Linked DNA regions of Homo sapiens: region 2 is linked to region 1. The links are contacts of gene promoters, found by promoter capture Hi-C in blood cells and fetal thymus (Javierre and others, 2016). All regions are on one chromosome and are shown on one strand. The core of a region is centred on a gene start or on the middle of the fragment in contact, and the rest is flanking DNA. Distances in the headings are between cores, read along the strand shown. Region 1 holds the start of OR5W2 (olfactory receptor family 5 subfamily W member 2). Region 2 holds the start of OR5D14 (olfactory receptor family 5 subfamily D member 14).

Region 1 (4,294 bases), core at 667-3,166:
TTCTTACATGTTGGACTTCCTTTCCTCTAAAAAGGCATTGCCCTGTCCACCTCAGGATGTCTAATTTTCAGCCTCTCTATCTAGAATCCTTTCTTCTCTCCACCCACCCATTGGATCTCTATGAATTTTTAGATCTAAAACCAAATGTCCCCATTTCAAAGAATCTTTTCTTTTCTTCACTCTAGTTAGACATTTTGTTTATGCTTACAGTACCCTGCCTTTTGACTTCATGGCCTTTTATAGTTTATTATGAATTATTGGTTAGTTTGATTAATTAAATGTTTCCACTATATTCTATGACTCACTAGTACAGAATATAGTGGATTCAGCATGAAATGCAAAGTACACAGCAATGTGAAAGGCATGTACTAAACACTCAATAAGTCTTAGAAAAATTACTGCCTGTCACGCCCGTAATCCCACCACTTTGTGGGGCCAAGATGGGTGGATCGCCTGAGGTCAGGAGTTCGAGACCAGCCTGGTCAAAATGTTGGAACCCCATCTCTACTGAAAACACAAAAATTAGCCGGGCCTGGTGGCAGGCACCTGTAATCCCAGCTACTCGGGAGGCTGAAGCATGAGAATCACTTGAACCAGGGAGGCGGAGGTTGCAGTGAGCCGAGATTGCACCACTACACTCCAACCTGGGCAATAGGGTCAGATTCCATCACAAAAAAAAAAAGAAAAGAAAAAAAGAAAAATTACTCTGAAATATATATTAAACAAATAAAAATTTGCCCCACTAACTCAAAGACTGGAGCATTTTTCAAATATAGAGAAATTACCTTACCTAAATTGAAAACACATTAAAAAAATAGCATATTTAGACAATTCCAGAGAATTGCTAGATTGTGGCTGAGTAAAATATGTATTATATTAAATTAGGGTATTTGAGACAACTTTATGTTATAATATATAATTTGAAGAAAACACCAGTATGAATATGCATTTTTGTGTGTATAAACATGTATTTTTACTATTTCCTTAAAATAAAATTTTATTTTTCAGTTTTTTCAGGGCCTCTTTCACATCCTTGTTCCTCAGGCTATAAATCAGGGGGTTCAACATGGGAACCACAAGGGTGTAAAACAATGAGGTCATTTTATCTTGATCTAGAGAATAGGAAGAACTTGGCCGGAAATACATAAAGAGCAGAGTTCCCTGGAAAATTGCAACCGCAGATAAGTGGGAAGTGCATGTAGAGAGAGCTTTGAACCTCCCCTCAGCAGAGTGTATCTCCAAGACTGATAGGATGATATAACAATAAGAAATGAAAACTCCTGAAATGGTACTCAGTTCAATAAAACCAAAGACGGTGAATAACACTAACTCATTGACCTGTGTATCTGAGCGAGAGAGTAATAAGAGAGGAGGGATATCACAGAAGAAATGATTAATCTCATTAGACCCACAGAAGCATAGGCGGAAGGCCAGTGTCATATGTATCAAAGCATCTGCTATTCCCACCAGATAAACCCCAGTCAAGAGTAGATAGCACACTCTGCTAGACATGTTGACTGTATAGAGCAGGGGGTTGATGATGGCCTTGTACCGATCAAAGGCCATCACTGACAGCAGTAGACACTCAGAATCTGCAAAGATACAGAAGACCAAGAATTGCAGAGCACAGCCATAGAAGGGTATTGACTTGTTCTTGGCAAGTAGATCTACCAGCATCTTGGGCCCAGTTGCAGTAGAATAGCAGAGATCACAGAAAGACAGATGACTGAGGAAGAAATACATTGGTGTGTGAAGTTGGTAATCCATTCTGATTAAAACTATCATTCCAAGATTTGCTGAGAAATTAATGATATAAACAGCCAAGAATACAGCAAATAGGGTCACTTTCATCTCTGGGTTATTGGTAATTCCCAAGAGAAAAAAATCAGTTAATGAGGAGCAATTTTCCCAGTCCATTCTTCCTTGTTCTTGTTTCAAACTGCTACAGAAATCATTACGAGAATGACAGTCTAGAACTTGACTTTCCAAGATATCAAAAAAAAAATTATCTGTAAAGTAGAACAAGATTTGTTTATGTAAATTATCTTCTTTACCCTCAAAAAGTATCCCAGGTGAGTGTCACTTTCAAAGAGGCATTATTACTGTATTAAAAAAAAAAAACCCTAAAAGTGTCTGCCAAAGGAAGTTGATCAACTTTGAATCTAAACTTACATGCAATTTCTGACATATATCATTTGTCTTTGCTTCTATTGTACAATCTAAGGCAGTCAATTTGATTAAACTGAAAGCTCAGTACAGATCCAAAAGGATGTGAAAGAAACACCATAGTTAGAGTCACAAGGGCCAGAACATACCGGACTAAGCATCTCATATATTTGACAAAAAAGGATCATATTTATTGCATTATTCAAGAAATATATACATTTTTCTACCACTGACAGTGATATTACATGTAAGTTAATAAGAGAAAATTATTATGGTACTGTTTTTGATGTGGTGTCGTTAGTGCTTACTGGAAAAGAAAAATGTTTTATTTAACTGTTACTCATCATCACTGGTTTGTCACAGCATTTATAATCCATTTGGATGACTTATCTGGTTCTAAAAAACAAAAGCCAAATGTAAGTGGTAAAAGAAGTGTGAACAACAGACTACTTATATTTGCTTATAATTGACTTTTTCATTAAAATCAAAATGTGAAGAACAATAAGTGTTTCTGAAATATATAGGCTTCTGTTGCTTGTGTTATATGTGCACTTACTCTTGTGTGTGTGTGTGTGCCTGTGTGTGTCTGTTATATGAAAATTGAAATGTGGGGTGGGTCTGATTGTTATTTCTTCTAGACTTAAATATTATGGCATGTACCTTAAGAACTTGAATTTTCATAAATTAATATCTGTAATGTGTTACCTCTATTATTATTTGAGTAAATCTAGAACCTATCTTAAATTTACATCTAAAATAATATCACAGGTACAGTGATTTTTTAAAGTAATGATTTACTTATGAAGGTTGATTAAAATATAAATGGGTGAAATCTATATTATCCTCTTACAATGACAAGTAAGGTCAGTCAAATTCACACAGATCCAATAAGAAAATATCATTGTTTGGCCATTAGATTCCAGAGGTGCTTCAACTGAGTAAGCATCTATAAAATCATTCATTTGTAAATTCCTTAATACATGATTTCTTATTTTTCCAAAATTTTTCCTCTGTCCTTTAAATTGATCATTCAGAAACCTACCTGAGATGAGCAAGTCTTTCTGTCCTTACCTCTGGTATGTGAACAATAGGCAGATCACATTTTATTTTTACTGGTGACTGTTGGGACATAAATCTCTCAAGCCTCTGCCTTCACTCCTTTATGTTATTCAAACATGATTAATTAGATTCCTAGTTCTGTATTTTCCCCAGTGAATGCTGCAACTAGTTTACCAAAGGCTCCATTTTTAATTTTTCAGCTTTATCACCAAATTGACCAATGTTAGAAATTTATCAGAATTCATTTAACAGTATGCTTCATGGTTATCATGAAATAAGACAGCCAATGAAACTTGAGTAGATTTTCAACTTAATGGTTTTCTTGTCCTTTTCATTGTTCATCCTGTTTCTTCCACTTCTGAAAATCTCCTTCATCTCCCATTTAGAAATAAGATAATCTAACATGCTGCTTTTTTTCATTAATCATTGTCTGAGTACTTTTTCCCCAACTACAGTGACAACTACCCTCATTTCAATTATTTTATGGATGTACAACATCCGTCACATTGAACACACTTTTTCTTAATTTATATTTTATTTGTCTGTTGGCCTAGGTGTCTCTCTACATTCCCACAATCTCTAGCACAGAGATATGTGTGAGTAATGTATGTTTTTAAATGTGATTGTGTGATGTTAAATATTTTCTGCTTATTAGGCTGGTAATGTTCAACCAAGAATAAACATAAACAAACTTTCAGGTCTGTTTCTCCTAATATAGTTGATATGTACAAAGATGATTATTTAAAAGAAAACGTGGCCCTGCGCGGTGGCTCAAGCCTGTAATCTCAGCATTTTGGGAGGCCGAGGCGGGAGGTCAGGAGATCGAGACCATCCTGGCTAACATGGTGAAACCCCGTCTCTACTAAAAGATACAAAAAAATTAGCTGGGCGTGTTGGCGGGCGCCTGTGGTCCCAGCTACTCGGGAGGCTGAGGCAGGAGAGTGGCGTGAACCTGGGAGGCAGAGCTTGCAGTGAGCTGAGATTGCGCCATTGCACTCCAGCCTGGGCAACAGAGCGAGACTCCGTTTCAAAAAAAAAAGAAAACATGTGTTGAGGCCATGCTTTTTAA
Region 2 (4,294 bases), core at 822-3,321, 120 kb before region 1:
AAACTGCAATGCCTTTTGATGCCTCAACTCAGAATGCTCACGTCACTCCTGCAATATTTTCTTGGTCAAACAAGTCACAATTCCAATTTAATGAATCAATCACTGTGTTCTCTAGTGGAAGCATGACACACTTGGGAGATAAAACCTCTAAACCCTTAGAGCTCATGGTTTCTCTTATGGGAAAGTTCTAGGTCTCACAAATTATTGGAGGAACAGCAATGTATGTTGGTTGCAGATTTCAAGCATATAATATATTCAGGAGGCTATTACTCCATCCTTCTAAGGTATTGCCAAAGAACCTGCCCTGTAACTAAGTTTCAAAAGGTGTTCCTCATGTTCCAAGCATACTTTTTGAATTTGTAAATACTAGAATATTTGTCTTTAACTGTTGCTTTTCAGGGCCACCTTAAGGTAGGATTACAGTCCTGCAGTTATTCACTTTTGTGTGGGCCAGCATATCATGGGGAATCATCTGAAAATGAGGCTCCTATGCTTTCTTCCACATTCAGGTTGCCATAGGGAATGCCCCATGAGACACAAATTCAGGCTGAGCAAGAAGAAGCAATACAGCAAGGTATGGGCCACGGACATCTGTAGCACTTGATTATGAAATTTACTTGTGTTTTCAGGAATAGGAGTGCTATTGGCTGCTGCATATTTATACCCAGGATGCATGCAGGATAGATTATATCTCACTAAGAGGTGCACTGAATTTTGGAACAGATGAGGCAAGTATTTAAAGTTTTATTGTAATTTGAATTACATGCAAGCAAAGCTTGATAGTTAACTTCATGCTGCATTTTTTTTTCTGAGTAGTTTCAAGGAAATTCCAGTCACTAAATGTGACACAAGAGACTTGGTATTTGCCTTAATTGCCTGTTTTGATGCTTGTAAAGAGTAAGTTGTTAGTGATTCTCCAGAGTTTGAGTCCCTAGGGCTATGAAGTTAAATGAAAGAGTCTTGGTGCCTCAGGTATACACTGTCTGAAGAGACAGGAGGGTGGCAGCCTGTTTCTTTGTATGTAGCAGGTAAGTGTATTCAGGCTTTCTATGAAACTGAAAATAGGGTCTTCCTGATACGGCAAATGGGGCCTTTGATTTTTTAAATGTTAAATCACTGTGTTATTCAATTCTGTGCCCAATAATATTAAAAAATGAGGTCAACACTCATGAAAATATTTAGCCTTATATCCATTGAAAATTATCTCATGATGAATAGTATAAACTTGCTACTTGGAAATGGATATTTATCCATATTTCCTTTATATTCATCTTAAATTAGTGTGTAAATTTTTATAAGATTGAAAACTAGTCAGGCTTAAGGGAACTTTCACCTGATAAATCTTGAGACTCTTATAAGATACTTATGCAATACCTGAGCTATAGTAGATGCTGACCCTTAAGTCATAAACCCCAATAAAATGCCCATTCCACCAAGAGGTCAAAAGTAGGCCATTGTCCTTGTCAACTCCTCAGCAACTAAGATATTCAATGAGAGAAGTAGCCTTTCTAGAATAAAAGTTGGTAAAAAGTGGAATTAGTGTGCTCTTTTTCCAGATTTCTACAATATTTTCCTTTATCCTTAGAATAGAAATATATTCTGAATATTTTAATCAATTTGTCTATATAAACAAATACAGTAGCAATGCATGTTGTTGTTTGATGTAAATATTTTACATTTTCCACAGAATCTTTATTAGTTTATATATTTATGTATAAACATTTTCTATAAGTTATGTGCATGTCATGCTACTAGTTAATGTGTAGACATGTATACTACTGTACACATATACACACACATACACATACACATATATATTCACACATATATATATGTATGAAAACAGAAAGTGTAATAAAAATGGAAAGACACTCCAAAGACTTGGCTTGGTTTGTTTTAGACATAACAGCTGCCTGCATGAGGTATGTTCTTCTTGGACAAAACTAGGACCAGTAACTATTCCTTCTCCTTTTTTCCTTTTAATCAAAGAAAGTCATGACATAATTATCACTCACCCCATATTTTGCTTTGGCAGGAACAATTCTCTTCAACCCTTCCATTAAAAGGAATTATGATGATGGTTTTAAGGAATCTGAGCATGGAGCCCACCTTTGCCCTTTTAGGTTTCACAGATTACCCAAAGCTTCAGATTCCTCTCTTCCTTGTGTTTCTGCTCATGTATGTTATCACAGTGGTAGGAAACCTTGGGATGATCATAATAATCAAGATTAACCCCAAATTTCACACTCCTATGTACTTTTTCCTTAGTCACCTCTCTTTTGTTGATTTTTGTTACTCTTCCATTGTCACTCCCAAGCTGCTTGAGAACTTGGTAATGGCAGATAAAAGCATCTTCTACTTTAGCTGCATGATGCAGTACTTCCTGTCCTGCACTGCTGTGGTGACAGAGTCTTTCTTGCTGGCAGTGATGGCCTATGACCGCTTTGTGGCCATCTGCAATCCTCTGCTTTATACAGTGGCCATGTCACAGAGGCTCTGTGCCCTGCTGGTGGCTGGGTCATATCTCTGGGGCATGTTTGGCCCCTTGGTACTCCTTTGTTATGCTCTCCGGTTAAACTTCTCTGGACCTAATGTAATCAACCACTTCTTTTGTGAGTATACTGCTCTCATCTCTGTGTCTGGCTCTGATATACTCATCCCCCACCTGCTGCTTTTCAGCTTCGCCACCTTCAATGAGATGTGTACACTACTGATCATCCTCACTTCCTATGTTTTCATTTTTGTGACTGTACTAAAAATCCGTTCTGTTAGTGGGCGCCACAAAGCCTTCTCCACCTGGGCCTCCCACCTGACTTCTATCACCATCTTCCATGGGACCATCCTTTTCCTTTACTGTGTACCCAACTCCAAAAACTCTCGGCAAACAGTCAAAGTGGCCTCTGTATTTTACACAGTTGTCAACCCCATGCTGAACCCTCTGATCTACAGCCTAAGGAATAAAGACGTGAAGGATGCTTTCTGGAAGTTAATACATACACAAGTTCCATTTCACTGAACCAGTCTCAAAAGTTGTTTTCAATCCAAATGAACAACCCAAACAGAGGCTACAATGTTTCTAAAGCCTAGAGCATATATTTATATGAGGTTTTTATGGAATTGTCAAATGTGAATTGATATAGCATTCCCAGTATTATCAGGTTCAGAAATCTCTACAAGTTTAGTCCAGTTTATACAAAATGAATGAAAATAAACATTTAATCTGAAAACAATGAGAAACCATATTTCAAAATTATTTCTAACTTTTATATGAATGACTAAATAAACACAAATATTTGGTAACAAATACTATACAAATTCAAGCAACATTCTCCAAATTTTCTCTAAAAAGAAACCTTTCCCCTAGGAACAAAACTAGGGCTTCTTGGAGAAATGGCTAATTTGAAGTCTAGGGTGGAAAATAGGCAAGATGAGCTTTGGGCAATTTAATGCTCCAGAAAGATAGAATACTATCAGCAGCTAATCAGATTGTCTCAAAGAGATATAGGAAGCAATTTGAAATGGCTGATGCTGGTTTATGGTCAGAAAAAACTTTTTAAACATAAAAATGGATATTGATTACAATTGATTTAAAGTCCTCATATAGATTTAAATCTAGGTACTGAAAAAGAAAAAAATAAATAAGCCATTGTTTAATATCAATGGATATTAGGGCACCAATTCATTACTCTGAAAATAAGTAATTAAATAATATATATATTTATTCTATTTTTCCTATATGAATAGTATGTCAGCATCACCTACTGATTAATGAGGTGAATTTCAGAAGAAATAAAAGCATAAACAAGGATGAAATTGGACAATCACAACTGTAGAACTCCACATTTAAAAAATGAATAAAGGTAATGATTTCAACAGACATAATAATCATTAGGCAAAAAGTTTGTGGATAATTTTAAGATGAAGTAACTAAGTTGACACAACCTGAATTCAGAGATCAGAATGATCATCACTAAAAGTTGGACAAACAGTTATCATCAACCAGTTACCATGTGCTTCTCAATGGACTGCAATGTACAGTAGTCAGAATCATCTATGAAGAATTTTTGCTTTTTTTTTTTTTTTGAGACAGTCTCACTCTGTTGCCAGGCTGGAGTGCAGTGGCAAGATCTCAGCTCACAGCAACCTCCACCTCCTGCGTTCAAGAGATTCTCCTGTCTCAGCCTCCTGAGTAGCTGGGACTACAGGTGTGCACCACCATGCCTGGCTAATTTTTGTATATTTAGTGGAGACGGGGTTTCACCATGTTGGCCAGGATGGTCTTGATCTCCTGACC

Evidence for each region. Contacts are between HindIII fragments. The CHiCAGO score rates a contact against its expected background, and 5 or more counts as called.
Region 2: a contact is called between the fragment with the promoter of OR5D14 here and the fragment with the promoter of OR5W2 in region 1, in 5 of 17 cell types (neutrophils, naive B cells, total CD4 T cells and 2 more). The highest score is 5.8, in neutrophils.

What each region holds. Positions count from the first base shown.
Region 1 is chr11:55,912,666-55,916,959 of GRCh38, forward strand. OR5W2 (olfactory receptor family 5 subfamily W member 2) reads right to left here and starts at 1,917. Exons shown (of 1, transcript NM_001001960.1): 1 at 985-1,917. The coding sequence starts at 1,917. The coding sequence ends at 985. The HindIII fragment of the contact is 7,753 bases long and covers 1-4,294 here.
Region 2 is chr11:55,793,485-55,797,778 of GRCh38, forward strand. It overlaps OR5D14 (olfactory receptor family 5 subfamily D member 14), which reads left to right and starts at 2,072. Exons shown (of 1, transcript NM_001004735.1): 1 at 2,072-3,016. The coding sequence starts at 2,072. The coding sequence ends at 3,016. The HindIII fragment of the contact is 1,368 bases long and covers 774-2,141 here.